Regions from separate parts of the Homo sapiens genome. Here regions 1 and 3 are each linked to region 2. Evidence: promoter capture Hi-C in human tissues and cell types (Jung and others, 2019). All regions are on one chromosome and are shown on one strand. The core of a region is centred on a gene start or on the middle of the fragment in contact, and the rest is flanking DNA. Distances in the headings are between cores, read along the strand shown.

The links. Contacts are between HindIII fragments. The study calls those that stand out against the background at their distance.
Region 1: a contact is called between a fragment that was not itself captured here and the fragment with the promoter of ANKRD29 in region 2, in 1 of the 25 tissues and cell types used here (mesendoderm cells).
Region 3: a contact is called between a fragment that was not itself captured here and the fragment with the promoter of ANKRD29 in region 2, in 1 of the 25 tissues and cell types used here (aorta).

The regions. Positions count from the first base shown.
Region 1 is chr18:23,624,794-23,628,264 of GRCh38, reverse strand. All of the region lies in intron 6 of ANKRD29 (ankyrin repeat domain 29), which reads left to right. Among named protein-coding and RNA genes, the nearest start is that of ANKRD29, 36 kb to the left of the region's middle. The HindIII fragment of the contact is 9,770 bases long and covers 1-3,471 here.
Region 2 is chr18:23,660,479-23,664,337 of GRCh38, reverse strand. ANKRD29 (ankyrin repeat domain 29) reads left to right here and starts at 1,427. Exons shown (of 10, transcript NM_173505.4): 1 at 1,427-1,628. The coding sequence starts at 1,608. The HindIII fragment of the contact is 14,259 bases long and covers 1-3,859 here.
Region 3 is chr18:23,600,305-23,603,824 of GRCh38, reverse strand. ANKRD29 (ankyrin repeat domain 29) reads left to right here. Exons shown (of 10, transcript NM_173505.4): 10 at 2,516-3,520. The coding sequence ends at 2,599. Among named protein-coding and RNA genes, the nearest start is that of NPC1, 16 kb to the right of the region's middle. The HindIII fragment of the contact is 5,934 bases long and covers 1-3,520 here.

The DNA.
Region 1 (3,471 bases), core at 802-3,301, 37 kb after region 2:
AGTGGTTTTGAGGTCAGGAATCCCAAGTTCTCAATCCATCTCTGCCAATAATTTGAGCTGTGTGGTTTTGAACAAGTGAATCAACCTCTCTGGGCCTGACTTTCATCATTGAAAATTAGGAGGCTGAGCAGCATGAGCCTGATGATCTCTTCAAATGCCCACATTTTAAATAATTGTTTTATTCAACATTCAATCAATATTTCTTGAGTACTTACCATGTGCCAGACATTGTAATCAATGTAATGTATCAATGTAAGGTTATATTTTTAGAATTGTAAAGTTATTCTTAGGTGGCCCCAGGAATACTCCTGGGAAAGGAAGCAGTTTCAAAAAAACTTTTACTTTCGTCCTGCTAGAGTTGACTTTCGAGGACTGGAGTTTAATATTTTCGTATTGGTCCTTCTTATTTTGTTATTGTTGATTGATTCTGAATCAGATGATTCATTTTACTAAAATTAGTAAAAGGAATTGGTTATTTTTAGATTGCCTAAGTTTGATTTGGGGGCCATTATTGAAGATACCACTGTGAATTTAGAATGTGAGGTTATCAAGATTATCAAGTCTCTCTATTAGTACATCCTTCCAAAATAATTTCTGGCACTTTGAATTTTATTCTTTATATGCCTAAAGTACTGCTTGTAAAAAACCAAGTCGATATAAGAGATTATATTTCAAATGTTGCATGAGCCATGCCCACTTAAACCTAAAATGAGTCATGCCGTGATGTTGAAGCCAAGAAGTTAAAGAGTAAACCAACATTGCAGCAGTAGCCACAACACGCCATAGCTGTTTTTTCTTCCTCAAGAGTTAGGATAACCTGGTCAAAGTGGATGACCTAGTCTTTGAGTGCAGGGATCCACCCTCTGGTCAAGGAGCAAGTGCTACAACTTCTAAAGACTGCATCTAATGAAATTGTTTTGAATTATTTTGAGTTCAGCCCTAAAAGAATTGTTATTCAGGAAAAGGGTGTCTTATAAAATAAGAATTGCTTTGGGGAAAAAAGGCAATGGAATTTTTCCTTTTTACAGAGTACACTCACCCCATTGTGCCCTCAAATCATAATAATTTTTATTACCTACTGTGAGCTTATAATTAGAGGTTGTTATCTATCCAGGTCAGACTAGCTCAAGTTCCGTCTTCTCTGAAAGTGTAAACTCTGCATATTTATTATGTTCCAAGAAAACAGTGCCATGCCTGCACATGGCCTGCACATGGCCTACCTATATTCTATAGGTAGAGCATTTGGAAACCAATGTTTTATTCTGAAATCTCAGCTGACACATTGAGTCATTATTGGAAAATCCTTGAATTTACAAAATGAGGACAGGAATACCTGCCTGGTTTAATTTCCTAATACTTTTGGCTAAATCTGATTTGTAATTGTTGCACTGACATTCTATGAAGCCCTACCATTTTATTACGGTATCCTGTAACAGGATGTTGACAAAGTTACATTGAAATTACTCAGCTGACATTTGATATGAGCTTCAGGGAATCTGAACGGTAGTGGGATGACTTTTCTTTGTAACTCTATCACTGAGAACTAAATGAAGACCTTTTTAGTACTTTGGGATGAGGAATCATAATCCCAAATCTAGTCATAGCCAGACAGTAGGAAGACTATGTTCTTGATTTGAAACTTCAAAAAATATTTTCCTTCCATATTGTCCTAAGCCAAAAGGTCAAGAGTCACAGAGATCATTGAAATATAGATTTCACTCTAACAATTCATTTTCATTTCTTTCCACGTGTCCTCACCAAGTTGAGTTGCTATGAGTCAGACCTTTTTAATCACTAGCTGAGTGGCTATTTCTATTTTTCTATTAACCAAATGCCTCGACATATATTTTCCCAACTCCACTCACCCACCTTATTAAAACAATACTTTAATAGAATGCAAAGGTCTGATCCTGTTAACCCAGAGCTGAGGTTAGTCAGTTAACTCATCTCTATCTAGTCTTTTTCATGTGCTAAACAGTATTTCTTTGAAGGCTGGAGGAAAAGTCATCTAATAAAGTGCCATCTCCTAACAGAAGCCTTGACTTGTACACAGAGTAGCTGGACCCAGAAATTAAACGTTCTCCCAGGTCGGAAGCTTAGAGGGGTGAATCCATCAATGGCAGTGGGAGAAGGAGCCAAAAGATTAGCGTAGAATCCTGGGGGTTTGGAAATGGGAACAGACAGCCATAGGAAGTCCTTGCTGCTTGGCAAGGGCAGGGACTCTGTCTTGTTTCGTTTGCACATGGTACACACTCAGAAAAAGTGTATCGACTGCCAGAAGATCCCCATGGCTGGTGCAGAGCAGGTCTGGAAGCCTGCAGCATTTAGTGATCAGTGCCTGAGAGTTAGAAGAAGGCTCCAGATATAGGGCCCAGACTCATAAGCATAAGCCCCAGGAAGACTGTAAGAGGCAGCTAGGGAGCAGACCCAGATTTTTTGGGTGGAGAGCAGCTTGGAAATTATGGGGATATAGATATCTTAAAATGAAACAGAGGCCCCATTTTGCTTATTAACTGTGTGACCTTAGCAGGTTGCCTACTGTCCCTGAGTCTCAGTATTTTAGGACTACTGTGATAATTAAATAAAATAATCCCTGCAAAACTCTTAATGCAGTAGCTGATACACACCCAGTGCAATGTTAGGTATTGCTGTTATTATCATTCCTATTCCAACCAGGCCTCATTGGAACAGAAAACCCATCAGAAATCAAGGCTGCACTTTCTCTAGTGAGTCGTGTGTTCTCTGTCATCTCAAAGTCTCTTCATATCTCTGTTTCTCCCCACTCCTTTCTTTTTTTACCAGTTTTGTCTGCTTACTTATCTTGTATGTGGTCCCCAGGTTTATGGATCAGACTGCCAACCTCTGGGAATAGCCATGTCATTGTCACAGCTCATCTTTGTGCACCAGGCCACAGTGACTGGCTGGCCTGCCTATCCTCAGTCCCATCACCCTTGACTGGGGAGGATAGAGTCAGACCATGGGCAATGCAGCATCTGGTAAAATCTCTTACAGACCCATTTGCTGGGCCAGGCACACGGTGCAAGGGACAATCATAAGAAATAGGCTCCAGGGCAGGGTAGGGTGGGTAAGAAAATTATCTCAATATTGAACTCCCTCTGCCACGGGCAGGATTCCTCACAGCTCTTGGACTCCCAACTTCAAATAGAATTGGTCCCCAAGACTTTCTGACTGGCCTAACCCTGTAGGTAGAAGTAACCCAAGTGTGACGGCTGGAAATCGTAGAAGCAAAGAGCTAGTGCCGCTTCAGATACTCATTCCCACAGAAGAGGATGGTTTTAGTTCTTTTTTCCAAATACTCTCAGGAGCCTACATAAGACCATACAAGGTTAGTCTCTAATACAGGTTGTGTCATATACTCCATCTCATGCTGTGATCTGGCTGTAAAAGTGATCTCGAATGAAATGAGGGAATAACAGAGTTGGAGGAAACTATAAAACTCACTCTATTTAG
Region 2 (3,859 bases), core at 178-2,677:
ACAAACAAACAAAAAACTATTAAAGCAAAACCTCTGATGCTTGATTTTTATATAATAACGTTGTGTGGCAACTTAAAAACTGTGTCATTTATAGGCACTCAAGGCAAGGAAAATGTTTAGAGTCCTTATTTTTAAAATTGGAATTTTCTATAAAAGTTCAGAATGTTTTTAATTTAAAGTTGTTTTAAGCACAAAGTAATACAATTTATCCATGAAGGTTAAACATTTTAATTTTTATCATTAACTTTTATTTGTAATTGTTTTCTACCTTTTAAATTAAATATTCGTTACAAATTTAATTGAGAAGAGGGAAGGAGGGGGAGAATGAATGAGTGGATTCTTATAGTTTGAGGGGGTAAGACCTCCATTTTTATACTATTTTTTTGTTTTGTTTTTATTTTTATTTTTGAGGCAGAGTCTTGCTCTGTTGCCCAGGCTGGAGTGCAGTGACCGAATCTTGGCTCACTGCAGCCTCAACCTCCCAGGTTCAAGCGATCCTCCCACCTCAGCCTCCCGAGTAGCTGGGACTACAGGTGCGCACCACCACGCCTGGCTAATTTTTGTATTTTTAGTAGAGATAGAGTTTTGCCATGTTGGCCAGTCTGATCTCGAACTCCTGGACTCAAGTGATCTGCCCGCCTTTGGCCTCCCAAAGAGTTGGGATTATAGGCGTGAGCCACTATGCCTGGGCTACTTTTTTACTTTCACTTTTCTAAAATGCTCTCAAAGAGCTGTTGTTGCCGTTTATACTTAAAACTCCCAGTTTTACTTCGCCCAAACCAATCCTGGGCAGGCAGCAGGAGTGGACACACATACTGCAATACTCCAGGGCTGCAGCATCAGACCCAGAGGAGGAGGGAACTGCTGGATTAATAACGCGGAGGAGGAGGAGGGGTATGAGTCTATTCCAAAATTGGCCTTTGCCCTTCAAAGAGGAAAAGACCACTTATTGTTTGTGCAATCAAAAGGTTTGTTTCCTAGATATTTTCCCCAGGAGAAAAAAGTTTCCCAGGAAACCGAGAAAGAAATTATAACGAAAATAGCTATTGGATGAATTTTTTCCTCAAGCTTCATTTTTACATCATTATAATATTTGTGCTGTAATGAAGGTTGGGAGTCCTCTGGGGCAGACCAGTCTATTTGGGAGGATATGTATGGAGTTTGTGTGTGAGTACATGCGGGTGAGTGGGCGTGAGTGTGGAAAGTATGTGTGTGGAACCTCTGTGTGTGTGGAATGTGGAGCGTATGCACAATGTGTGTGGAGTTTGGAGTGTGTGTGTGGACGAGTGAGTGTGGAAGTGTGGACGTGTGTGGAAAGTGCACAGTGCGTGCGGAGTTTGGGGTGTTTGTGCACGCGCGTGTGTGGCAGGTCCTGGAGCGCGTCCACGCGACACCCCATGTGTAGTGTGCGCGCGCGCGCGCCCCCGCGCCGCCCCTTCGGCCCGGCCCTGTGTGCGGCGGCTGCTGCCGGGCCGGGCGGCGGGAGCGCGCGGCGTCGGAGGCCGCCCCTCTGCGGAACGCCGAGAGCCCCGGGAGAGTGAAGGGCCGGGGAGGACAAGGCGCCCCGGGCCCAAAGCGCGCCGGCTCCCGCTCGGGCGGCCGCGGACATGTGCAGGATGTCCTTCAAGGTGAGCGACCGGGACTCCGGGGTCAGGGCTGGGGCCGGGCTCGGGCGGCCGGGCCCGCGGGGTCGGGTGGGGTGGGATGGGGTGGGATGGGGTGGGCGCTGCCCGCTGCCCGCCGCCTCCTCCTTCCTCTCTCCTCCAGCTGCGGGCGAGGCCCGGGAGGAAGCGGCGGGGCTGGGTGCGCCCTGTGGGTTTGCGGTTTGCCTGCCTGCCCTGCCTGAGAGGCTTCGCACTCATGGCTGTGGATCGGCTGAGTCTGTGCCCGGCGACGGGGCGGCGGGGACTGTCGCCGGGTAACAGGTCGGGGGCGGGTAAGAAGCCTGGGGTCAGCGCTGTCCTGCAGCAGAAGGAGTCCCCGACCCTGACCCTCTGGGTCCTCATGCAGGAGTACCAGCTGCACCCACGGATGCCTCCTCCCCGGAGGGGTGGCCAGCACCCAGGGAGGCTTCAGGGTCCAAAGGTGTCTTGTCTCAAAAGAGTTGATTAAAGTCATTCCATCTAATCCCCACATTTTAGGATGAAAGAGGTTGATTTGCCTCGATTGAAAGGGTTTAATAAAAATAGCAGTTAAAATGTATTAAACAGTTCAAATGTGCCTGACTCTGAACCAAGGACATGGTGTGTATGGTCTCAACCCTGGGGGAGACCTGTGGGAGGTGCTCTTCGTGGCTCTTTTTTTTTTTTTTTTCAAATGAGAAAACTAAGATATAGAGAAATTAACTCACCCACGGTTTTGCAGCCAATAAGTTATGGTGTTAAGACTGAAACCCAAGTGTGTCTGACTCCTAAGCCACTGTAATCCCGTTGCCGACAATAGCTCATGTAAGCAGAGGAGTGACATGGCGAGATGTGCATGTTGCAAAGATCTCTGGCTAGGTTTGGAGAAGAGGGTTGGAGCTGGAAGATGTTGTCATCTTTTTAAGAAATGGTACTGGACCAGTGCATAGGTGGTGAGAATGGAACGAAGCAGACGAATGTGAATGACTTTAAAGTTTTTTTTCCTGAGACGGAGTTTTGCTCTTGTTGCCCAGGCTGGAGTGCAATGGTGTGATCTCAGCTCACTGCAACTTCCGCCTCCCGGGTTCAAGCTATTTCTCCTTCCTTACCCTCCAGAGTAGCTGGGATTACAGGCGTGCGCCACCATGCCCAGCTAATTTTTTCGTATTTTTAGTAGAGACGGGGTTCTGCCATGTTGGCGAGGCTGGTCTCGAACTCCTGACCTCAGGTGATCCACCCTCCTTGGCCTCCCAAAGTGCTGGGGTTAAAGGCGTGAGCCACTACGCCCGGCCGACTTTAAAAGTTTTAAATCGGCATAATTCAGTAGGGAAGGCAAGAGAGATAAAGATAAAACGTTTGGTTTGGGATAAATTTTGAGGATAGATGGGAATCCAAGCAGAGATGTTGATTAGACAGATATACTCTCCTCGATCCCAGGAGGCAAGTCTGGGCAGCAGCTAGAGATGAGATTTAGGAGTCAGCAGTGTTAAGTAGGCACCCATGGGAATGAACATGATTGCCCAGTGGAACCATATAAAGGTGGAAAATAAGAGGACTGAGGACAAAATCTTGAAGAAGATTTGAGAAAGAGCAGCCAGAGACGAATGAGAAAACTCAGAAGCATGTGCTGTCACTTACACCAAGCATCTCTAATCTTTCAACAAAGATGAAGAGGACCTTGATGTTTATTAATGCCACAGGGAAATCAAATAAACAAAGAATTGAAAAGTCCATTGGATTTAGTGACGGAATAGGCACTGGTGACCTTGCCAAGAGCACTTTCAGTGGTGTTAGGATCAGGAGCCAGATTGCAATAGCTTGAAAGAGAGTGGGTAGAATCCACAAGTGTGGAGAACTCTTTCAAGAAATTCTGCAAGAAACAGATTTTTGTTAGTTTGTTTGTTTGTTTGGACAAAGTCTTGCTCTTGTCACCCAGGCTAGAGTGCAGTGGCGCAATCTTGGCTCACTGCAACCTCTGCCTCTCGGGTTCAAGCGATTCTCCTGGCTCAGCCTCCTGAGTAGCTGGGATTACAGGTGCCTGACACCAAGCCCAGCTAATTTTTTGTAATTTTAGTAGAGACGGGGTTTCGCCATGTTGGCCAGCCTGGTCTCGAACTCCTGACCTCACGTGATCGCCCGCCTCAGCCTCCCAAAGTGCTGGGATTAGAGGCATGAGCCACGGCACCCAACCCAGAGATTCTTTTTAAAAGGCAGTGGCTGCAGCAAGGATCTGGAAT
Region 3 (3,520 bases), core at 340-2,839, 61 kb after region 2:
ATCCAAGATGGAGTTGCATTAGCCTCCACAGTCCCTGTGCAGTTGTTTGAATTGCAAAGTGAACCTGCCACTTTTTTCATAGATCACTATTTTTACTTGAAAGAACAAGGTATCTACCACTATGACCTTAACAGCTTCCCAAAACTTAAAGGCTTTTCTGATGGATCAGTTTTTTTGTTTGTTTGTTTGTGAGATGGAGTCTCTCTCACTATCACTCAGGCTGGAGTGCAGTGGCGTGATCTCAGCTCACTGCAACCTCCGCCTCCCAGGTTCAAGGGATTCTCCTGCCTCAGCCTCCTGAGTAGCTGGGATTACAGGCATGTGCCACCACGCCCAGCTAATTTTTGTATTTTTAGTGGAGACAGGTTTTTGCCATATTGGCCAGGCTGGTCTTAAACTTGTGACCTCAGGTGATCCACTTGCCTTGGCCTCCCAAAGTGCTGGGATTACAGGCGTGAGCCACCACGCCCAGCCAGAATGTGAGTTTTTGATATTGCACAATGAAATGTGCCAACATTCTACAAACTCAGTGAACTGATATTTTCCAAATGAGCAGTGCATGTTACAAACCATGCATAGGTAAAAGATCCAACTATAAATAGATAAACCTGTGGGTTTTAAAGTTCATTGGTATGGTTTCAAATCCCACATTGCATTTAACCTTTAAGAAACTACCATTTGTTGAGTATTGATGTGGCATCAGAGAATAATATCCACAGCAATCCAAAAAGACTGTTAAAATACTCCTTCCTTTTCCAGCTACATATCTGTGTGAAGCTTAATTTTCTTTATATCCTTCTACCAAAACAGCATATCACAATAGACAGGATACAGATGGAGATATGAGAATCCAATTGTATTCTGTTAAGCTACACATGAAAGAAATATGTAAAGCTGTTGAGCAGTGCTACTCTTCTGAGAATTTTTACTTGTTTTTGAAAATTTAATTTTTCATAACTATATTAACTTGGATTTATTATTTTTAGTGAATTAATAAATATATTTTTAAAATTTTCTCAGTTTTAATTTCTTTTTTTTTTCTTTTTGAAAATATTTTCTTTCTAAATAATAGAGATGAGGTTTCACTATGTTGCCCAGGCTGGTCTCCAACTCCTGAGCTCAAGTGGTCCTCTCACCTCAGCCTCTCAAAGTGCTAGCATTACAGGTGTGAGCCACTGCGCATAGCCCTCAGCTTTCATTTTTAATAAGTTAAAAACAAAATTTGTTAGACTCTTCAGTAATTTTTGAGAGTATAAAGGGTCCTGAAACCAACAGGTTTGAGAGCCACTTCCACATCACACCTGTTGTCAATGGTAGGGACTGGTTCACTAGATGCCTAATGGATGTATCTCAGCAGCAATGTGAAAAGAAAGGCCTTCGAGTGATACTGAGTAAGGTGGAAGGTGTTAGCCACCAATGCTCTTCTTTCCCGGGTGTCTCTTATGCTCTGGAGGTTTCCTATCTCTGCCTTCTCATCAAAAGATATCTGGCCCGGGCGCGGTGGCTCACACCTGTAATCCCAGCACCTTGGGAGGCGGAGGCGGGCGGATCACTTGAGGTCAGGAGTTCAAGACCAGCCTGGCTAAATGGCGAAACCCCATCTCTACTAAAAATACAAAATTCAGCCGAGCATGGTGGCACATGCCTGTAGTCCCAGCCACTCGGGAGGCTGAGGCAGGAGAATTGCTTGAACCCAGGAGGCAGAGATTGCAGTGAGCCGAGGTCACACCACTGCACTCCAGCCTGGGTGACAAAGTGAGACTCCATCTCAAAAAACAAAAAAAAAGACACCTGTGCTGAGTCCTGACTCAGTCCCAAGTCCTTAGTGGGCAGACTACCTCATGTCATACATTAATAAATATAAGGTAGGCTGGGCACGGTGGCTGATGCCTGTAATCCCAACACTTTGGAAGCTGAGGCAGAAGGATCACTTAAACCGAGGAGTTCAAGACCAGCTGGGGCAACATGGCAAACCCCATCTCTGGAAATTAGCCGAGCATAGTGGTGCACATCTGTGGTCCCAGCTACTCGGGAGGCTGAGGTGGGAGGATCATTTGAGCTGGGGAGGTCAACGCTGCAGTGAGCCATGATTGCAACACTGCACTCCAGCCTGGGTGACAGAGCAAGACCCTGTCTCAAAAAATAATAATAATAAAATACATATAAGGTATAACATTTAATTTGACCGGTACTTATTGAGCACATTTTAGACATGCTGGGCATTGTGCTGGAGATAAGGATACAATGATTAATTAGATCTGGACCCTTCCCCCTAAGAGATTACAGTCTAGTAAGGGATCTGGCTGGAAAATGTCTCTAAGAATGAGATAAGGATATAACAAGTAATATTTATACATTTAAAGAAGATTTGTAATACCTTTATATAAAAGAGTGAGTCCAGTGTGGATTTTTTTCATTAGTGAAGGAGAAAGAGTGGGTCAAATGCCCCTCTTTGGAGTCCCTAAAACCACACCAGCTATGGGGATTCACTAATGCCCATCTTCTCTTCTTTCAGGCCAATGAACTTCCGGCAGAACTAACCAAAAATGAACGTATATTGCGTCTCCTGAGAAGTAAAGAAGGTCCCAGAAAGAGCTAACTTAGCTCCATATTTGACAGAAAGATAGAAAGCTTAACCACATTGTCCAAAAAGAAATTGCATTTCAAGCAGTGTTGGAAATTCTTTTATGAAAAAAAAAGATGCCCAGAATGCCCATCCTGTGGGTCCCTGACAAAGAAGAGCTACGCTCTGTGCACGAAGTCAAGAACCAAACAGCTCAGGGACCCTCTTGCCCCTTCACCATGGACTTCTCATGGTGTCCTGTAACTCATCTCCCGGGGGGCCTGGCATGTTCACAGATTCCACAGAAACTCATTTTCAACAATGCTAACTTGGACCTGTCAGTTAAACTCTAAGGTGGACAGGGTTCTCAGTACTAAGCAAGGAGACAGAATGCTTTGTTCCTTTAAAAGACTGAAAAGCTGACCTTCAATGGATTGAGGCACTTTTGCTTTTGTGTTAAATGTAGATGTGCTAAAATATATAGATCTATCATATTTTACCTACATATGTATGTCATTCCAGTATAAAACATTCTCCTCTACCCAAGAACCATAGCCATGATTGTTATAAATCAATGAAGTGTAAACATACATTATTAAAAAACCACTTCTGACATTCCATTATGTGCTATTCAAAGATGGACTATTGAACTATAGAAAAGACAGACTGTGCATTTGTTCGTTGATCCTCATCTTATTCCTGACATGTAAAAATCAATTTTACGTAGAGTCAACATTGTAGGTAGGTTAAAATACCAGTGGCAAATTTGGAAATTCAGAAACTTATAAACCACGAGAAATATATAGGCTTGTCTCTTTGGTCTTTTATTTTGGCTCTATTGTTGGGAATCTATTTCCTATTCTATAAGTAAGTATACCTAACATGCTGTGGAATCTTGAGTTTCCAACACCGTGCTGCTTGATAGAATGACTTTGAGGTCCTTGGATAAAATGTGAT